Linked DNA regions of Homo sapiens: region 2 is linked to region 1. Evidence: promoter capture Hi-C in 16 types of primary human blood cells and fetal thymus (Javierre and others, 2016). All regions are on one chromosome and are shown on one strand. Each heading gives the region's core, a stretch centred on a gene start or on the middle of the fragment in contact. The rest is flanking DNA. Distances are from core to core; before and after follow the strand shown. Region 1 holds the start of ADIRF (adipogenesis regulatory factor). Region 2 overlaps GLUD1 (glutamate dehydrogenase 1).

Region 1 (3,832 bases), core at 816-3,315:
AAAAGGGAAAAAAAAAAGTGACACCACAGCAAACTGGGGCGGGGGTGGGGGAAACGGTAATGCGGTAATGCGCTCCCTCCTTCTGCCTCTCCTTGTCTGAGAAGCCCTGGTGCCCTGCACGCTCTCACAAGGTCCACTGCTGAGTCCTGGGCACCCTTCAGCCAATTTAATCTTCACACACACACTTTGGGGAGACGCTGTGATGTGATGGGGATGTTGAGGCTCAGAGAAGTGAGGGGCTTGCTCTAAGAATATCTGAACCCAAGAGGTTTGACTGTAGTGCCTGCCGCTAGGGCCACGTGGAGCTCTCTCTACCACCATCTGCTGGGGGCTGGCTGTCTCTTCCCACAGAGGCTGCTCCCTTCCTGTCCAGCTCACAGCTCATTGCCCATGGGGCCTGGAGCCCAGTGGCACCACCAGCCTGTGATAAACTGGAACACTCGAAGGCCTGCCTGGCTATTGGGCACTACCGGTGGGATTTCAGGAGGGCTGGCAGGGCTGTGGCCAGCCAGGCAGGGCATGGCTGAGATGGGCTCCCCAGAGTCCCCAAGGCATCCATATGGCCGCTCCCAGGGCAAGGCCTCGCTCTGGGAGAGGAGGGGCGGGGGGCTGGGAGGACTGTTGCTGCCGCTTTGTTTTGCCTGAGACCTGCTCCCTCCCCCTTCCTCCACCTAATCTCATCACCTGCCTCTTCCCTTTGCCCAGGGTTGACCTCATCTCCATTAATCCATACCGTGTGTGTGTGTGTGTGTGTGTGTGTGTGTGTGTGTGTGTGTGTGTGTGTACAGGTGCACTTCCAAACAACTCCCTCTAGGGGCTGACCCCGCAGCACTAGAAGCAGGGTATGTGCCAGCAGACCAAGCCTGTGTGGCAGGGGCTTCCCAGCGCTCCAGAATAGGGGAGACACCAGCAGAGGTGCAAGAAACAGCCCCGGACAGGAAGCGGTAGAGAGACCCAGAAAGGCAGGGTGGGTGTGCACTGGCCTCCAGGTCCTGAAGGCCTACTCTGGAGTGGGAGTATACCCAGCTGGGTGGGGCCTGACCTACACCCCTTGTGTGCCAGGGGAATGTATCTTGCAAGCTGTTTTGCTGCACCCAAGGATGATCTTCTCCACTCAGGCCCAGGTCCCTAAGTCCCCTCCTAACAGCCACAAGTCATACTCTCTAGCGCCTTGCCTGCCCCATCTCAGGAAAGGTGACCTGAGAGGCCCAAGCTTATTCCTGCCCTCCCTGAGCCATGCTTCCTGCCCAACTTCCTAAGGCTTCGGTGACAGACGGCAATCTCCTTGCCTGGGCTGCACAGGCACACTGCCCTCTCCCCCTTGGGGTTGCATGGTCTGCAAGTGCACACACCTGTATCTCGCCCTCTCAGGGGAAAGATTTACCAGGCCCTCTCCGGCTGCATCCACTGGGTCTCTGGCTACAGGCAGAGAGCCAGTCAGCAGTGCCCCTGCAGCTGTTTGGGGCTGGGGGCTCCGATGATGCCAGAGCCCTAGGGTTTACAGGCACCTAGGCAGATTCGAGGATCCAAGTCCCTGCCACATGCGTTTGGGTGAGACCGACCTCACTGCCTCAGTTTCCTCCTATACACTGATGCTATCAACAAAAATACCCACTTCAGGAGGTGGTTGTAAAGATTATACAAGAGACTGCAGAGCGTTAGGCAGCACCTGGCACAAGACAAATGCTCAGTAAAAGACCACTGCTGTCATTAAGGTCAACACCAGCCCTGAGCTCCTGCCCTGGAGCTGACCCAGCGCTCACGCCCAGGATCAGAAAGGGAGGGCTGGGGCTGATGAGCTGGGAGGTGGTGTGCGCCCTTCTCCTGCCTCCAGCTCCTCTCTGGACCCCTGTCCTGGCACCTCTTCGGTCCCTGGTTCGGTCTGCCCCTTTCCCACCGCGGCCCGTCTTAGGCCAGGATGTGCTCCCTGCCCTGCGGACTCTGGAGCAGGGCCCGGCCACTCCCCGGAGCCTGTATGACGGGAACCGCCCCGCGCCCTCTCCCCTACGCGGGGCAGGCCAGCCCTGGGGCGCCTTAAAAACCGGAGCTGGCGCTTGGCATCGCCACTCTGGGCAGGATCCAACGTCGCTCCAGCTGCTCTTGACGACTCCACAGATACCCCGAAGCCATGGCAAGCAAGGGCTTGCAGGACCTGAAGCAACAGGTGGAGGGGACCGCCCAGGAAGCCGGTGAGGATAGCGCGCGACCTAGGGCTCAGGCAGGGGCACCTGCGTGGATGCGCAGGCAGAAGCAGCGGGTCGGCGCGGTCCGCAAGTTCCTGGACCGGCAGCTTGGCTCGGAAGGCTCGGTCCTCCACTGAGACGCAGGGGGCAGGCAGAACGCCCACCCCGGCGAGCAGACAGATGGTGCCCGCAGGGAGGCAGCGGAACAGAGGCTCCGGAGGAGCCGGAGCTGCGCTGCGGGCACTGCGGGAGCCCCTCCAAGGAGGCCATGCTGGCGCTGGGCGGCCCGCCCAGGCCCTCAGGAGAGGGTGAAGGTCCAGGACAGGGATCGGGCGCGGCCCGCCACCACTTAAACCCGCGCGCGCCACCAGAGGCTGCCCCAGACCTCAAAGGGCTTTGTTTCCATCCCACCCCCATCGCCGAAAAGTAATCGTCGCCTTACCTTTAAGTCCCCACCTGGCAAAGAAGGTCCTTAGTTCCTCCACCTCCAGCTCTCTCCTCCGTATTCTGGAGGTGACCCAGCTGCGGTGGGGGCGTGGGAGATGTCAGGAGACCACTGGGTTGGTTCTTCCTGCACCTAGCCCAGGCTTCGTTAGGACTCCAGCTCCCTGTCAGTCCTGCCCATATCCCAGTCAGGAGACAATATCCAAACCAACCCCTTACTTCACCAGTGCTCCAGGGGAGGCCCACAGTTCTTCCCTTGAGACTGAAATGCTACCAAGGAAGCCTCCGTGTCAGGTCCCTTCCTTCTGGGCTTCACTTTTCCATCTGAGAGCTGGGTGCAAAGGATGGGCTGCTTTCTGATGGGTTAATCGAGACGAGGTTCCCAGGGGCCTCTCAGCACACTTGCCTGACTAACCCTTTCCGGAGGATGGGATCTGGGTAAGGCAGGCCCTTTCCTGTTCAGCAGCAGGGATGAGTTACAGCTCTGTAGGCGGGAGCCACCTGTCAGCCCCCCCGGGGCTGGTGACTCCATTCCCAGCAGGCCGAAACTCTGGTCCAGAGGAGATAGTCCGGCCTTGGAAGTTTTGCCTCCTTCCTTCATTTGTCTCCTAATGTCTTAAGCTGCCTGTCCACAGAGGCACTGGCTTTGCTTGTGTGCCCCTCCGGGCAGGCCACAGGAGGGAGGAGGCAGTAAGGACCTGGCAAAACTGCAAGCCCCAGGGCTAAGTGCATGAAAGGTGGGAATTCAGGCATCTGGGCCAGGCTTCTAGGGGAGAAGCTGTAAAAGGGGGCAAGGGTCTTCTGCGCCATCACCAGCATTAGCCAACAGTCCAGATGCTAGCTGCAGCCTGGCCCTGCCCTGCCTTCCTTCCTCTGTCCAACATTTTCTCAGTAGCCCTGGAGATGGAAAGGGAAGCTCCTCCCCCACAGAGAAGGAGCTCAGAGTTAGAAATAAACAAAAACATCCCAGAGGCATGGAAAGGTCTCCTGCCCCTCGGGCTGGGGGGCCCTGGGCCAGGGACTTTATCTCCATGGCATCCATCCCTTGGACCTGTACCACCGAATACTCTGGAGGACACAGAGGCATGGCAATGGTGGGGCACCTGTAGTCGGTGGTGCCTCAACAGGGGCTAAAAGCCACATCTCTCTGTTCCAGTGTCAGCGGCCGGAGCGGCAGCTCAGCAAGTGGTGGACCAGGCCACAGA
Region 2 (3,832 bases), core at 488-2,987, 92 kb after region 1:
AAAACGCTGGGGGAAAAAGAAAAGGAAATAGATGGAACACTTCACCCAGATTCTCACAGTGGGCTGAGTACAGAAGCTCAGTAGGAGGTCTTGGTCTTATTTCAACTAGATGAGAAATTCTACTCTTAACTGTGGAGCTTACTCTAGTCAAAGAAAAACAAGTATTCTCATCAGGAGTCTCAAAAACAATTCTTGACACTAGATAGGCCTTTACTAAGAGCAACCAGAGACAGAAATTAGTATCGACAGTGGAGTTTTAAAATCACACTTAAAAAAATATTATTGGCTGGGCACAGTGGCTCACGCCTGTAATCCCAGCACTTTGGGAGGCTGAGGCAGGCGGATCATGAGGTCAGGAGATCAAGGCTATCCTGGCCAACATGGTGAAACCCCGTCTCTATTAAAAATACAAAAATTAGCCGGGCGTGGCGGTGAGTGCCTGTAGCCCCAGCTACTTGGGAGGGTGAGGCAGGAGAATTGCTTGAACCTGGGAGGCGGAGGCTACAGTAAGCCGAGTTCGTGCCACTGCACTCCAGCCTCGGCGACGGAGCGAGACTCCCTCTCAAAAAAAGAAAAAAAAAATGTAGATTATATTCTGTGAATATTACATCACAGAATAAAACTCTGGATATAATATATGGGAGAGTTAATATCCAGAAAGACATTGTGCATTTTTGGTCTAAGTTTCATGAGACAAAATATTATTTTCTTTTCTGAGACTCAATTCTTTCCCAAAGGGATCAGTTCTCTTAAGTGGACCTTTTTACAGCCTTTCAGCTGGCTCAAAAGATGAGTTTTGGCGAACAAGATTATCGATACTCACTGAGCAAGTGGTAGTTAGAATCCCTTTCATATTTGAAGGTCAAACGGCCATAGCTGACATGATTTAGATTCTTCAGCCACTCAAAGTAAGATACTGTCACTCCTCCAGCATTCAAGTAGAGATCCTATGCACAAAAATAAGACAAAGAAATTAGAAGATGATGGTTTTCGTAAAAGCTGAAAATGAACCTAAGACCTTAATTTCAATACCAAGGTAGACTGGACTTTAAATATCGCAAATATATTTTAGCCAGTATCAGGAATTTCACACTTAATTAACACTCCTTCCCATCCCACCCAATTCCATCTAAGGCTTTTTCTATTTAGGAAAAAAAAAAAATCATTTTTTGGCTTATTAATCAAGGAAAGTTAATAATCTTTGGTTGGAGCCTCTTCTCTACCAGAAGTTAGTTCTCAGACTAAATGGCTTGCCCACCAACCAGTTGGACTGGACTGTCCACAGGGCCTCTCAGAAGACAGGATTCTTTCTCCTATTACCTAAGGGTAGCCCATTTCAGTTACATTAAATGTCTTAAGTGCTTTCAGCAAAGGGGGTTCTTTAAAATATATTCCAAGCCCACATTAATTTCTAGTAACTTTTTGGTGTAGACTCATTTTTACTTGCTAAAAAACCTGAGCACGTGTTCCTCATATTAGTTTTCTGAGTAAAGCTGGAAAGGGCACTTGAAATGCATAAGGTTAGGAATCATATAGAAAATCTTAAGAGCTTTAGTTAGAATAGTGTTTCTAACACAGTACACATTTATATAACCAGACTCTTAGAAGGCTAAAGACATTCAGTAAAGAGCCTGAAATTGGAATAAATGTTTCGATCAAAGTGAAAATTAACAGGCTTAGAATTAACCATGCTTCTACTATATTTTCTCAAAAGTGAAAAAGATGAATTCACTAGAGCTTGGAGACTAATAATTCCTCTCTTCCTCCAAATTCCTTGCAAAAGACTATTATGATTCTAAGTACATATAAAGCCTAATAAATATAGATGACTTACTGGAATAACCATAATGTTTCTCTCCAGGAAGATCTTGTCAGCTTCTGGAGTTGTTGGCCCATTGGCACCTTCAGCAATGATCTGCAAGAGAGTCAGGAACATAGAGAAATGCGAACACCACCGTCAAATCCCCTCCACTGAGGGCAAGAGATGTGCATATATGAACAAGGGGCTGTGGGGAGAAGCACAGTTTCAGTTAAAGTTAAATAGAGGTTATTTTTCTCTGCCAAGTGTATAAAACTACCTTTCACTTTTCTATTTATCTAGGTTTTTTTTTTGTTTGCTTGTTTTTTTTTTTTACAGGAGTGTCAGGCAGATGCGTTTGTTTTGGTAATGGTTGCACAACTCTGTGCCGGTAGCTAAAAGCCATTAAATTATGTACCTTAAATGGGGGAACTGTATGGTATGTGCAGTATGTGCCAATAAAGCTGCTAAAAAGAAAGAGAAAACTCAATCAGACTCTTCTATGACCCCCCTAACGTCATTCACATTGATAATGTTGGTTCTGGTTTCTATAATGTTGTCACCTTGGCTTTGACTCTGGGTGCGTTGGATTTGGTCAACTGCTTCTCACTGGCAGCTGGGATCAGTATGTCACAGTCGGCCTCCAAGATGCTTCCTTCATAGGGCTTTGCCTTGGGGAAGCCCAGAATGGACCCATGTTGCTGCCATTGATTGAAAATCACAATTAATAGCTGCACCAGAGTTTTAAATATTTATATTTAGTGTCTATGCTATAAAAATGTATTAATACCAATTTGAAGTCTTCCAGTTCCTTTGGGTCAATACCATCTGGATTCCATATACTCCCATCAGACTCACCAACAGCAATACATTTAGCACCAAAACGATGTAAATATCTCATAGAGTGTAGGCCCACATTACCAAATCCCTGTGAAGAACAATTACCCATAACACAAAAATTAAAGTCCTGGTATAGACAGCAAGAGTCATATTTTGACCAATGTAAATCCATACTCTGTTTATTTAGAAGCAATTCTCAAAATTCTTTTGCCAAAAGAAACAATGTACTAACTGGTTTCTCTTCAACAATAAAATTCTCTGTTTAAGAATGTGATGAGCGGGCATGGTGGCTCACGCTTGTAATTCCAGCACTTTGGGAGGCTGAGGCAGGTGGATCACTTGAGGTCAGGAGTTCGAGATCAGCCATGGCCAACATGGTGAAACCCCGTCTCTACTAAAAATACAAAAATTAGGCATGGGGTCCGTGCCTGTAATCCCAGCTACTTGGGAGAATGAGGTAGGAGAATCACTTGAACCTGGGAGGTGGAGGTTGCAGTGAGCCGAGACTGCACTCCAGCCTGGGCAATAGGGTGAGACTCCATCTCAATCAATCAATAAATGGCAGTGGTGTTAAGTACACCACCAGGTCCTCAGTCCTTGATGATCAGATGTCCTATGTTGTGAAAAGGGATGTCACTAATTTGGAGAAATACAATTTTTTTTTTTTTTTGAGACCGAGTCTCATTCTCTCACACAGGCTGGAGTGCAATGGCACAATCTTGGCTCACTGCAGCCTCTGCCTCCCGGGTTCAAGTGAGTCTCCTGCCTTAGTCTCCTGAGTAGTTGGGATTACAGGTGCCGCCATCATGCCCAGCTAATTTTTCTTTCTTTTTTTTTGAGACAGAGTCTGGCTCTGTCACCCAGGCTGGAGTGCAGTGGCGCAATCTCGGCTCACTGCAAGCTCCACCTCCCGGGTTCAAGTGATTCTCCTGCGTCAGCCTCCAGAGTAGCTGGGACTACAGGCGTGTACCACCACACCCTGCTAATTTTCCTATTTTTAGCGGAGACCGGGTTTCACCATGTTGGCCAGGATGGTCTTGATCTCTTGACCTCGTGATCTGCCCACCTTGGCCTCCCAAAGTGATGGGATTACAGGCGTGAGCCACCACGCCCGGCTTAATTTTTCTACTTTTAGTAGAGACAGGGTTTCACCATGTTGGCCAGGCTGGTCTCGAACTCCTGGCCTCAAGTGAT

The links. The method cuts DNA at HindIII sites, captures the fragments that hold promoters and counts their contacts. A CHiCAGO score of 5 or more calls a contact.
Region 2: a fragment that was not itself captured here is called in contact with the fragment with the promoter of ADIRF in region 1 in 1 of 17 cell types (M2 macrophages); the score reaches 6.9 in M2 macrophages.

What each region holds. Positions count from the first base shown.
Region 1 is chr10:86,966,417-86,970,248 of GRCh38, forward strand. ADIRF (adipogenesis regulatory factor) reads left to right here and starts at 2,066. Exons shown (of 3, transcript NM_006829.3): 1 at 2,066-2,189; 2 at 3,784-3,832. The coding sequence starts at 2,129. ADIRF-AS1 (ADIRF antisense RNA 1) reads right to left here. Exons shown (of 2, transcript NR_170185.1): 1 at 2,626-3,832. RefSeq lists enhancers at 1-752, 593-772, 753-1,505, 3,012-3,765, 3,766-3,832 and a silencer at 2,876-3,170. The HindIII fragment of the contact is 3,661 bases long and covers 1,212-3,832 here.
Region 2 is chr10:87,058,327-87,062,158 of GRCh38, forward strand. It overlaps GLUD1 (glutamate dehydrogenase 1), which reads right to left. Exons shown (of 13, transcript NM_005271.5): 7 at 2,589-2,726; 8 at 2,362-2,499; 9 at 1,835-1,915; 10 at 824-947. Among named protein-coding and RNA genes, the nearest start is that of GLUD1, 35 kb to the right of the region's middle. The HindIII fragment of the contact is 5,304 bases long and covers 1-3,832 here.